Regions from separate parts of the Homo sapiens genome. Here region 1 is linked to region 2. The links are contacts of gene promoters, found by promoter capture Hi-C in human tissues and cell types (Jung and others, 2019). All regions are on one chromosome and are shown on one strand. Each heading gives the region's core, a stretch centred on a gene start or on the middle of the fragment in contact. The rest is flanking DNA. Distances are from core to core; before and after follow the strand shown. Region 1 overlaps TPM4 (tropomyosin 4). Region 2 holds the start of AP1M1 (adaptor related protein complex 1 subunit mu 1).

Region 1 (6,193 bases), core at 1,429-3,928, 100 kb before region 2:
CGCCATCTCGGCTCACTGCAACCTGCGCCTCCCGGGTTCAAGTGATTCTCCTGCCTCAGCCTCCCAGGTAGCTGGGACTACAGGCGTGTGCCGCCACACCTGGCTAATTGAATTGCCACTTTCAGGAGGTAAAATATCTCTGCTTAGTTAGTCCCATGAGCAAGTATAGAGAAAAGAGTATGGCTCTCTCTGATTAAAAAAATATTAATAATAAATTAAAAATCTCAGGCCAGGCGCAGTGGCTCAAGCCTGTAATCCTAGCACTTTGGGAGGCCGAGGCGGGCGGATCACTTGAAATCAGGAGTTTGAGACTAACCTGGCCAACATGGTGAAACCCCGTCTCTACCAAAAATAGAAAAAATTAGCCAGGCGTGGTGGTGCACGCCTGTAATCCTAGCTACTGGGGAGGCTGAGGCAGGGAGAATCCCTTGAACCTGGGAGGCGGAGGTTGCAGTAAGCCAAGATCACGCCACAGCTCTCCAGCCTGGGTGACAGAGCCAGACTCCGTCTCAAAAAAAAAAAAACTTCACAATTTCCTTCTGTTTGCTCATTTCTGATAGATGCCTTGCATTTTTTTTTTACATGCCTTGCATTTTTGCAGAAGCTCTGTCCCAGGGAGCTCAAAGCTTATCATAGTATTTAAAAAAAAAAACAGAAATACAGAAAGTGTAGGGACTGCAATAAAGACTAGTCTGCAAGTCTGGGGCCCACTTCTCCCAGAATTTTTTCAAGAGTTCCAGTGTTTAACATTCGGCCTCAGAAATTCCAGAATCTTGGGGTTCAAATGGAATCTTCCAAACTGCCCATCCCACCCAGAAAGGACACATTCTTCAGACCATATCTTCCAATGTTTTTTTGGGGAAGTGAGGTTCCCATATAAGGGAAAATGCCCCATTCCAAAATACGACCTTTGGACAGGGTGACGTCATTGGAAATCCGAAATAAACTGAGGGGTGGGGACCAGTGGGGGGAAGCTCTGTCACTTCTGGTTACCACTGTTTTGAAGCTTCATTGTGGCTAATCCCCCTGCAGAACCTCAAACCACTTAGAGATCAACTCCATAGATCTTTGGTTTTCTTCATCTGTTTCACATGGAACACAGCTTTCTCCTAGTCTGTGCTTTGTTTGCTCACGTGTTTTTTTCTTCCTCTTGTGGTTCATCTGTGGCACTCCATTCCGACCCTTGCCTTCTGTCCCCTGTACTTCTGAACTGTCTCCCTGGGGACCTCCGCCCTCTAGATGAGTTATACGCTCAGAAGCTCAAGTACAAAGCTATCAGCGAGGAACTGGACCACGCTCTCAACGACATGACCTCTCTCTGAGAGGCAGCCAGGTCGCTGCCCTCTGTCCTTCTCACATGGTGCCTCCTACGCCCCTGTGGGCTTCTAGGAGCTCCGGTGGCCTGCCTTCTGGTTTGAACGTCAGAGCCTTCTTCTGATGTGTCTGTGACTCTACAACCGAAATAAAGACGGGCAGTCCTCCTCTTCATGCCCCCTCATTCTCATTTTCTCCACTTGCTGCCTTTGAGCTGTAGCTGTGTGCCCTTAACCATAGCCTGAAACACAAAGTGGGTGGTTAGCCTCTCTCACTCACAAATGAAAAGCTTATTACAAAAAGAAAATTATGCCTACAGGATGCTTTTCTGAAGACGTGAAAACAAAAGCAAACTGGGCATGTGCTCTCAGATACCGCTGTTAGCTAACGGCATCTGCATGCCAATAATTTTTTTTTGTTTTTTTGTTTTGAGACAGGGTCTTGCTTTGTCACCCAGGCTGGAGTGCAGTGACACCATCATAGTTCACTGCAACCTCCACCTACAAGGCTCAAGCTATCCTCCCACCTCGACCTCCCAAGTAGCTGGAACTACAGGTGTGCACCACCACACAAGGCTAATTTTTGTACTTTTTTTTTTTTTTTTTGAGGCGGAGTCTCACTATGTCGCCCAGGCTGGAGTGCAGTGGTGCAATCTCGGCTCACTGCAACCTCCGCCTCCCGGGTTCAAGCAATTCTCCTGCCTCAGCCTCCCAAGTAGCTGAGATTACAGGCATACACCACCACACCTGGCTAATTTTTCTTTTGGATTTTTAGTAGAGACAGGGTTTCACCATGTTGGTCAGGCTGGTCTCAAACTCCTGACCTTGTGATCCGCCTGCCTTGGCCTCCCAAAGTGCAGGGATTACAGGCTTGAGCCATCACGCCTGGCCATTTTTGTACTTTTTGTAGAAGCGGGAGGGTTTCACTATGTTGCCCAGGCTGGTCTTGAACTGCTGGGCTCAGGCAGTCTGCCCACCTCACCCTCCCAGGGTGCTGCAATTACAGGCATGAGCCACCGCGCCCATCCCCAATGGTTTTTCCTTAAATAGAAATTGTTGTGAATGGAGGCTCATCCTTGTAAACCGCTTAGGCAGCTTAAGAGTCAACAGGGATTTGGAAAAACCAGCAAGCCTGTGTCAAAAATGAGGCTCCCCTTGAATGGGGCTTGAGCTACAGATTCAAACAGCGGCAGTGACATTTTGATCTCCATTTCCTCCTTTTCTTGTGTCTTTTCTCTGTGTTACACTGTGAGTGTGGTGACTGGGGCTTCCCGTGGCTTTACTCTTCACTGTTCATCCAGCTCCCAGTCCTGGGAGGAAGTTCACCTCCACGCCCTGCCCTTAGAAAACTGACTGTACAAGGAGTGAACGGGCCTCCATGAACAGGGAAAGTGCTGTGACGTCAGAAGACGTGAATTTAGAATTCTTTTCCCGAATTCCAGAATTGCCTGAGACTGCTAACATCAATCTCCATTCATATTTCAGTTAGTTATAACAGGAACCTTGCTTTAGTTTAGAATAGCTCTTAAGGTTGACCTGTGGGTAATAAAAGGTCATGCTTTTTCCTACATGAGGAATATGGAGAAAACAAGGTCACTCTTTTTTTTTTTTTTTTTTTTTTTTTTTTTTTTTTCAAGACAGGGTCTCACTCTGTTGCCCGGGCTGGAGTGCAGTGGCGCCATCTTGGCTCACTGCAACCTCCGCCTCCTGGGTTCAAGTGATTCTCATGCCTCAGCCTCCCGAGTAGCTGGGATTACAGTCGCGGACCACCACACTCAGCTAATTTTTGTACTTTCAGTAGAGATGGGGTTTCACCATGTTAGCTAGGCTGGTCTGAAACTCCTGGCCTCAACTGATCCGCCCACCTCAGCTTCCAAAAATGCTGGGATTACAGGCGTGAGCCACTTTGCCCGGCCCAGGCTATGCTTTGCTTTTTTTTTTCTTCTTTCTTTTTGAGACGGAGTTTCGCTCTTGTTGCCCACGCTGGAGTGCAGTGGCGCCATCTCTGCTCACTGCAACCTCTGCCTCACGGGTTCAAGCAATTCTCCTGCCTCAGCCTCCCAAGTAGCTGGGACTACAGGCATGCGCCACCATGCCTGGCTAATTTTGTATTTTTAGTAGAGACAGGGTTTCACCATGTTGGCCAGGCTGGTTTTGAACCCCTGACCTCAGGTGATCCACCCGCCTCGGCCTCCCAAAGTGCTGGGATTACAGGTGTGAGCCACTGCACCTGGCCCAAGCTATGCTTTTCTAATGATCAAAAACATACCAATTTGTCCCAAAATTTCAAATAGTGCATCTGGTTCTCCCCTGCATCCTACCACCACTACCACCTCAAATTATCACAGATAATTGACATTTAGATGTTCAAGCCACATCTTCCAGACTACCCCTTGAACCTGGAAATGGCATGAAAATCTCCAACTAGATCCTGAATTTTCGGTATCCATTGTTATTCCTCATCCTATTTTTTTGTCCAGGTGGGAAGCTCTGTCCCCATTACTCTCTCTATTCATCCATTCCTCCAAAATGCACCTCCCCTAAACCACCTCCACCTTTCCACCCTCAGCCTCTCCCTGCTCCTAACTGCCGTCCATCCTGAACTTCTGCAAAAACCATTCCCCTCACACATTGCCATATATATGCCCTTGGAAAGATTACAGACTGTGTAGGGGGCTGGTTTTTGTTTGGAGTCTGTGTGTTTGTCCCTGGAATTTCTCCAGGCATTTCTGGACTCCACCCTTTGAAGTAACTATGCAGCCTGTCTATCCAGTTATTCTACCTAACTAAGCACATAAGTGGAATTTCAGAGATTAGTGCTATGGCCGGGCACGGTGGCTCACGCCTGTAATCCCAACACTTTGGGAGGCCAAGGCAGGCAGGTCACTTGAGGTCAGAAGTTCAGGACCAACCTGGTCAACATGGTGAAACTCTGTCTCTACTAAAAATGCAAAAATTAGCCGGGCATGGTCATGGGGGCCTGTAATCCCAGCTACTGGGGAGGCTGAGGTGGGAAAATCAATCACTTGAACCTGGGAGGCGGAGCTTGCTGTGAGCCAAGGTCGAACCTTTGTACTCCAGCCTGGGCGACAGAGTGAGACTCCGCCTCAAAAAAAAAGAAAAGAAAAGAAAAGAGATTAGCACTATGGAGGTCTACACTATCTGTTGATAGTCTGTGAGCCTTGTCGTGATTCTCAAGGGCAGTTAACACTTTCAGGGAAAGTCATTTTATCTCAGACCTAATAACAAAATAGATGCTAAAGCATCTGAGTGACAAGATGAAGCGAAGTCAGGATTTGTAGTCAAGAGACCAGGGTTTAAGGCCTGGCGCAGTGGCTCACACTTGTAATCCCAGCACTTTGGGAGGCCAAGGCAGGCGGATCACTTGAGCTCAGGAGTTTGAGACCAATCTGGGCAATATGGCAAGACCCCATCTCTAAAATTATTCATAATAATATTTTATTTTTAAAAAATTTTTTAATAAAATAATAAATAAAGAGACCAGGATTTAAAATCCTAGCTCTACTACTTTAACCATGCCAACGTGAACAAGCTGCTTAGGTTTTCTGCAAAATAAAGGTGATATCTCTGTTATGAGGATTAAATGAGATAATGGAGAAACTGGCTCGTCCAACATAGTCAGCATTCAGTTAACATCTATTCACCCAGACTGGATAGGCCCAGGTCACTGATCTGTCTGATAGAATCCTCCCAGGTCATAGTCACTTGACTCTGTGTGTGTGTGTGTGTGTGTGTGTGTGTGATGGAGTCCCACTCTGTCACCCAGGCTGGAGGGCAGTGACGCAATCTCGGCTCACTGCAGTGTCCGCCTCCCGGGTTCAAGTGATTCTCCTGCCTCAGCCTCCTGTGTAGCTGGGATTACAGGTGTGCGCCACCACACCCGGCTAATTTTTTGTATTTTTAAGTAGAGATGGGGTTTCGCCATGTTGGCCAGGCTGGTCTCGAACTCCTTACATCAAGGATCCATGGTGTCTCATGCCAGTAATCCCAGCACTTTGGGAGGCCGAGGTGGGTGGATTGCATGAGACCAGCTTGGGCAACATGGCGAAACCCCATCTCTACTAAAAATACAAGAATTGGCTGGGTGTAGTGGCACGCACTTGTAGTCCCAGCTACTTGGGAGGCTGAGGTAGAAGGATCACTTGAGCCCAGGAGGTCAAGGCTGCAGTGAGCTATGATCATGCCACTGCACTCCAGCCTGGGCAACAGAGCAAGACCCTGTTTAAAAATAAATAAATAAGAAAGGCTGCCATCTTCTGCAGTCATTTTTTTCTTTCTGTAAATTTCCAGGCTGATGATATCACATTTTATGAGGCATTTTGCTTTCCCCCAGCATTTTAATGAGTCTTGGCCTTGTCCCTTATCAGCCATCACTTACTGCAAACTAAGTTCTCTCTCGTGCTCTGTCACGCATAGCTCTAAATGGCGTCTTTTTTCTCTCTCTCTTTCTTTTTTAATTTAAATTGTTTCATCAGCTCAGTTACTTAATAACATGCCTGTAGAATGGCTTAAATTTCGCATTTACCTGGGGTTTGTCTCCGTTCTCCTGGATTCATAGACAGTTACACAATTATGTGTATAATTTAAACAGCCATTCCCAGAAGCTCCGAAGGAAAGATGGGTTACAGGATTTTAGATTTAACTATCAAAGGCTCAGGGGCTAATTAACTAGCACTTGGGTGGAAATTTATATTAAGTCACACATATCTAGGACTGAAATCTTCATGTAGCAGCACGTCATAGGTTCTGAAGTATTTCTCCTTTATTCCTCATCATAACCCCCACACCACGCATTGATATCGTTACCCCCATTTGACAGACGGGGAAAACAGACCTAGGAAGGTTAGATGCTTACTTAA
Region 2 (6,052 bases), core at 1,007-3,506:
CGGTGACTCACACCTGTAATCCCAGCACTTTGGGAGGTGGGGCGGGCGGATCACAAGGTCAAGAGATCAAGACCATCCTAGCCAACATGGTGAAACCCCGTCTCTACTAAAAATACAAAAATTAGCTGGGCATGGTGGCAGGCACCTATAGTTCCAGCTACTTGGGAGGCTGAGGCAGGAGAATCACTTGAACCTGGAAGGCAGAGGTTGCAGTGAGCCGAGATCGTGTCACTGCATGCCAGCCTGGTGACAGAGTGAGACTCTGTCTCAAAAAAAAAATTAAAAAAAAGAAAAATCCCAATAACCAAACCCTGGCCCAGACCAATTAAAACAAAATCTCTATACATGGCTTTCAGGCCTCAGTGGTTCTTATTGTGTGTGTTGTATTGGGGGGGCTTTTGAGACCCCCACTCCTAACCTATTCCCAGACCAAACTGAGGGTTGGGCTTCTATATCTCACAGCCCAATAATGAGACACAGATGAACTAGGGAGGAAGAGAGTTTTTATTTCTGTAACTGGTTACAGGGAGAAGGCCTGGAAAATATCACCAGACCAACCCAAAATTACAAAGTCTTCCAGAGCTCATATACCTTCTAAGCTATATGTCTACGTGTAGGTGTGCATTCATCTAAAGACGTAAGTAAGTTATAGTCTTTTAACCCATAACTAAGATCTGAGTCCTGAAGACCTTCCTCTGGAGCCTCAGTAAATTTACTTAATCTAAGTGGGTCCAGGTGCTGGGGTGATTACCCTTATCTTATCTCCTGCTAAATCATGGAGGTTTGGGGGAGTTCCTTCAAACCCCAATAAACTTGTTTGTGGAGGCCTGAGGAGTTTCTTCAGACCGCCAATAAAGCTTGTTTAATCCTAAAAGGGTCCTGTTAAGAATTCCTTCATTATCTTGTCATGCTTCAAGGCCCAGGAAAGGCCTAGGCACAACTCTGGGTGGGCTTTTGTTACATCCCAGCCTTTGTATAAGGGCACTGGCTCTCTTATCTTTTAATATTTAACTTAACCCTTGTAATCCCAGCACTTTGGGAGGCCGAGGTGGGTGGATCACGTGAGGTCAGGAGTTTGAGACAAGCCTGGCCAACATGGTGAAACCACGTCTCTACTAAAAATACAAAAATTAGCTAGGTGTGGTGGCACATGCCTGTAATCCCAGCCACTTGAGAGGCTGACACACAAGAGAATCACTTGAACCCAGGAGGCAGAGGTTGCAGTGAGCCGAGATCATGCCATTGCACTCCAGCCTGGGTGACAGAGTGAGACTCCATCTCAAAAAAAAAAAAAAAAAAAAAAGCAAACAACAAAAACCCTCTCTTGGCTGCTTGCTCTGTGCCTTGAGCAAGAATCCTTCCAGCCCAGGAGTCACTTAGCAGTCTTCAAACATTCTAGTTTGCTTCTCTAGAGTTTCGGTCACATTTCTTTCCTAAGCAAAACACTATATAATTACCGAGTTGCAAAAATCATCTTTCCAAACGCCAAAACGGAGATAAGACAGAAAATAAAAGATGTGAGAGGCAGGCATCCTGGGTAAATCACTCTGGTATTGCAGGGTTGGGATCCCCAGGGTACTATGATGGCTAACTGGAACAGAATGCAGGCATTTCTCCAAAGCCCAAGAGTTCATAAAAGCAAATTAAATATGACTCAATGGATTAATCAAGGGCCACCAGTTGCATTACTGATTACTAACTTTGCAGAAATGAAACACGGTATGTTGGGTCAAGGTTCAGTGAGGCTGGTTTTCATAACATTCCAGGCAATAAACAGGCACACTCATTCATTGATAAATGTTGACAATGACAGGTGGTGACTGTTGATAAGGTTTGATTGCCATTCAGAAAGTTTGTTTGACCTCTTTCCAAGTAACCACGACCTTACCTCTCTCTTTTGAGCTTATCACAATTGGTGACTGTACACTTGTTTCATAGACTTCCCCACCAGACTGTGAGCTCCATAGGGCTGGGCCCCAGGTCGGTTTCACCACCAGGCTCTCTCGCCTAACTCGGCCCACGGGAGGCCGTTTCCAGCTGCTCTGGCTCCATAGCTCAGCCTGGCAGCGGCCACTGGGTGCCCTGATTTGGTCGGCCCCGCCCCACCGGGCCTTACTTCCGGGATGCTTCTGGCGGGAGCAAGAAACATGGTTACATACGACGTAATGCGCCTGCGCACAGTCCGTCCTGCGCCTGCGCATTCCTGACAGCACCTCCCGGACCGGACATAACGGTCCCCGCGCGGCTCCCCGAACCGGAAGTGGAGGTGAGCTGTCGCGGGCGGCGCCCGGCCTTGCTCAACGCCCAGCAGTCCCCACCGTCGCTGCCGCCGCCACCGCCCTCGGCCGCTGCCGAGGCCTCCTGCAGCCATCATGTCCGCCAGCGCCGTCTACGTGCTGGACCTGAAGGGCAAGGTACTGAGGGCTCCCCACCCTCCCTGTTGCCAGGCAACCGGCAGGGGCCTCCGCCCGCGGGGACCCACCCTGTTGCTAGGTAACCGGCTTATGAGCCCCATCCTGGTGTGAGGCAGAGAGGCCGGTAGACCTCACCTGAGAGCCCCATCCTGTTTCTGGGTAACCGGGCGGGGGTCTTAAGTGGGTAATCCCCGCCCTGTTGCTACGTAACGCGGTGGGCTGCAGCCACCGCGTTGCCAGGTAACTGACTGCACCGCCCTCTGCTCCCCGGCGCCGGGGCCGGGGGCTCGGGCCTCGGTGGAGGACCCAGAAGCGGGGCCGCAGCCGGCCTCGGAGCCAGGCAGGGCGTCCAGGGGCTGCGCGACCCTTGGCCGGGGGTGGCGAGGCGTGGCGGGGACTGGGTGCTCTCGAGCCAGTCCCGCCTTCTCAGGGCGTTACAGCTTCTGTTTATCGTGCACTTTCTCTCAGTAGGAATTTCTCCACGTTCATTGTGATAGTGAGTTACAAGGATTAGGTGAGGTGAGTGGTGATCACGAGTGCCGTTTTATAGAGGGAGAAACTGAGGCATGGAGAGGTGAAGCAACCTGACCAAGGTCACAATGGTCACAGAGAAGTAGCAAGTCTAGGAGTCCGATCCAGAATCATTCGTTTATTCAGCTGATATCTGGGGAGCACCTACTAATGCCGGGCAGGGTACTAAGCCTGGGGTCGATTTGTGTTTAGCAAAAAACAGTCCCTTTTTTTTTGTTTTGTTTTTGAGATAGTGTCATGCTCAGTCGTCCAGTCTGGAGTGTAGTGGTGCAATCTCCACTCACTGCAACCTCCGCCTCCCGGGTTCAAGCAATTTTCCTGCCTCAGCCTCCCAAGTAGCTGGGATTACAGGCACCTGCCACTACGCCGAGCTAAATTTTGTATTTTTAGTAGAGGCAGGGTTTCACCATGTTGACCAGGCTGGTCTCGAACTCTTGACCTCGAGTGATCCACCTGTCTTAGCCTCCCAAAGTGCTGGGATTACAGGTGTGAGTCATGTGCCAGGGCTCAACAATCTGTGTTCTTACGGTGTTCACAGGCTGGTAGGGGAGATGGATACCCATCTCCAAAAACACAAATAAATGTCAATTGCAGTGGTGTTGAGGGGCGAGTGTGTTATACAGACAGTCAGCCTCAGCCCGAGGATGAGAGAGGGTTTCCCTGAGGAGGGGTGACAAATGGACCAGAGACACCAGGGAGCTGGACATAAACTAGAACCCAGGCATCTTCCCCAGAGGATCTGAGAAAACTTTAAGAAGGGATTGTCCCCACCTTTTAGAAATGGTCCTCTGCCTTCTCCTAAGTCCATCCCAGGTGCAAGGCAGGTGGCTGCCTGGCCTGTTGCATGTGGAAGCAACAAGAACCGGTCCAACAATGTGAAGCCCAACATTGATCAGTGAGAGAAACAAACATGGGTGTCAGGTCCTAGGTGAGGCGGGCAGGGGTGAGCCCTAAAGCAGCTGAGAGTGAAGAGGTGAAATGGCTGCCCCTTCCCGCCCCACCCCACCCCCAGCACTTTCCTGAAGTCCCTTGAGTGGGTGCCTGCTCTGGAAGCCACCCAAAGTCAACAACTGGTGAGACCCAGTGCTGGGCTTCCCTCCCCCGCCTTCTTGGAAGGAGGGAAGACACCCGTCTTAGAGCACGCCAGGGGCTGGGTGGTGCGGTGGAATGAGTCCTGGTGGAATGAGTCTTGCTTCCACCCTGGCCACTGCCTCCCCAGAGGTGCCAGTGGGCTGCCTGTCTTGGCTTGCTTATTCCTTCAGCAAACATTTCATGAGCACCTAGCATGCACCCTGCCCTATGCCGGGCATAGGGTGTCCATTGGCGCCATGGCTGTGGTGTTAGGGGTGAGCTCAAAACCCATCCCTGCTGCTCAGCTGTGTGACCTGGGACAGGCACCTTCTCCTGTCTGAGCCTCACTTTCCTCACTGGTCAAAAGAGGCTTTTATGGAGTTATTGTGCAGATTTGCTGAGCAGATGCATGAGACAGGCTCAGCACCACCCATGGTCCATGTTAGCTCTCCCAGGCCTCTCGGTCTAGCAGGGGAGTCACCTAGAAGCAGAGACATTACCACACAGTTGGATCCAGGCAGCCACAGGGGCAGGAACAAGGTCCCAAGTCCTGCAGTTGCTCAACCTCATCTTTAGCCAGTGGAAGGGGGAGGTGGTTATGAAAGGCTCCCTGAAGAGGGCGACGCTGGAAGTAGGTTTGGAAGGCACGATCATGTGGAAAAGAGGTGTTGCAAGGGGCAGCCTGCTGGGGCTGCCAAGCCAGAAGTCCTGGCTAATGCTGAGATGGGAGAGAGGGACCAAGGGGACCACTTCAGTTCCAACCAGGAGCCACCGTGAGGAGACCGTAGCCCAGAGAGGCATGATCAGACCTGCCTTTCAGAAAGCTCCCCAAGGCAGCCGTGGGCTTCCTTCCCTTCCTCTGCAACCATGATGCCCTTTCTTATTCCACGACCCACGGACCTCCTGTTTCCAAAGTCAGCCTCGTGAGCCGACTGCATTTAATCAACAATAAAGCACACTGAGAAATTCATGGCCACGTGTCTGGTCACCGAGGACACCAGCGTGGCCACACTGGGCTGGGAGGAAGCTGTCCTAGTAGGAAGCTTCTCCGCTTTATCTAACTGGCTTCTCAGCAGCTTCTGACACCACTAACCACCTCCTCTTCAGTGCTCCCTTCCGCTTCCAGGAGGCTGCGCTCTGGGGGGTTTCCTCCTGTTTCTTGCACTGCCTACTTTCCTCCTTTTCTGCCCTCCCCAGGGCTGTGGAGCGGCTCAGGCCTACGCGTGCCTCCCCATGCTGTCACTCTTCCCAGGTGGGCTTTGACTCATGTCCATGGGCCAGTGACTCTCAATTTTGTTCACAGCATTTCTCTGGAGATCTAGTGGCCTCTGAGACACCAGAGAGGTCCCGCCGCCACCATAAATTCAGCATTCTTCTAAATGCACTCCCTGTACCTGCTCTCTTTCCATTTCAGTGATGCCATCACCCATTCAGCCATCTGCACAAGAGACCTGGACGTTATCCTCGCCTCCTTTGTCTCCTCACCCCTGTTTTCACTCCACAAATGTTTACTGAGCACCTACTATGGTCCAGGCCCCTTTCTGGGTGCTGGAAAACAGCTGTGAATGAGACAGGAGTAGTTGCTGTTCTCAGGGGATGTCAGACAGTAAAGGAGGATAGAAATAAATGTTTAATGCACCAGGTGATAGGGATAAAGCAGGGGTCAGGGTTCAGAGGGATGGGACATGATCTCAGCCAGAGCAAGCAGGGAGGATTTCTTTTTTTTTTTTTTTTTTTTTTTTTTTTGAGATGGAGTTACGTTCTGTCAGCCAAGCTGGAGTGCAATGGCACAATCTCGGCTCACTGCAACCTCTGCCTCCCAGGTTCAAGTGATTCTCCTGCCTCAGCCTCCCAAGTAGCTGGGACTACAGGCATGCACCACCACGCCTGGCTAATTTTGTATTTTTAGTAGAGACAGGGTTTCACCATATTGGTCAGGCTGGTCTCAAACTCCTGACTTCAGATGATCCGCCTGCCTCAGCCTCCCAAAGTGCTGGGATTACAGGCGTGAGCCACCGCGCCCAGCTGGGAGGACT

Evidence for each region. The method cuts DNA at HindIII sites, captures the fragments that hold promoters and counts their contacts. A contact is called where the count stands out against the background at its distance.
Region 1: a contact is called between a fragment that was not itself captured here and the fragment with the promoter of AP1M1 in region 2, in 3 of the 25 tissues and cell types used here (H1 embryonic stem cells, dorsolateral prefrontal cortex and spleen).

What each region holds. Positions count from the first base shown.
Region 1 is chr19:16,094,025-16,100,217 of GRCh38, forward strand. All of the region lies in intron 7 of TPM4 (tropomyosin 4), which reads left to right. Among named protein-coding and RNA genes, the nearest start is that of RAB8A, 15 kb to the right of the region's middle. RefSeq lists an enhancer at 1-828 and a silencer at 3,163-3,360. The HindIII fragment of the contact is 3,724 bases long and covers 817-4,540 here.
Region 2 is chr19:16,195,655-16,201,706 of GRCh38, forward strand. AP1M1 (adaptor related protein complex 1 subunit mu 1) reads left to right here and starts at 2,257. Exons shown (of 12, transcript NM_032493.4): 1 at 2,257-2,414. The coding sequence starts at 2,373. RefSeq lists a silencer at 2,401-2,640. The HindIII fragment of the contact is 7,648 bases long and covers 1-5,948 here.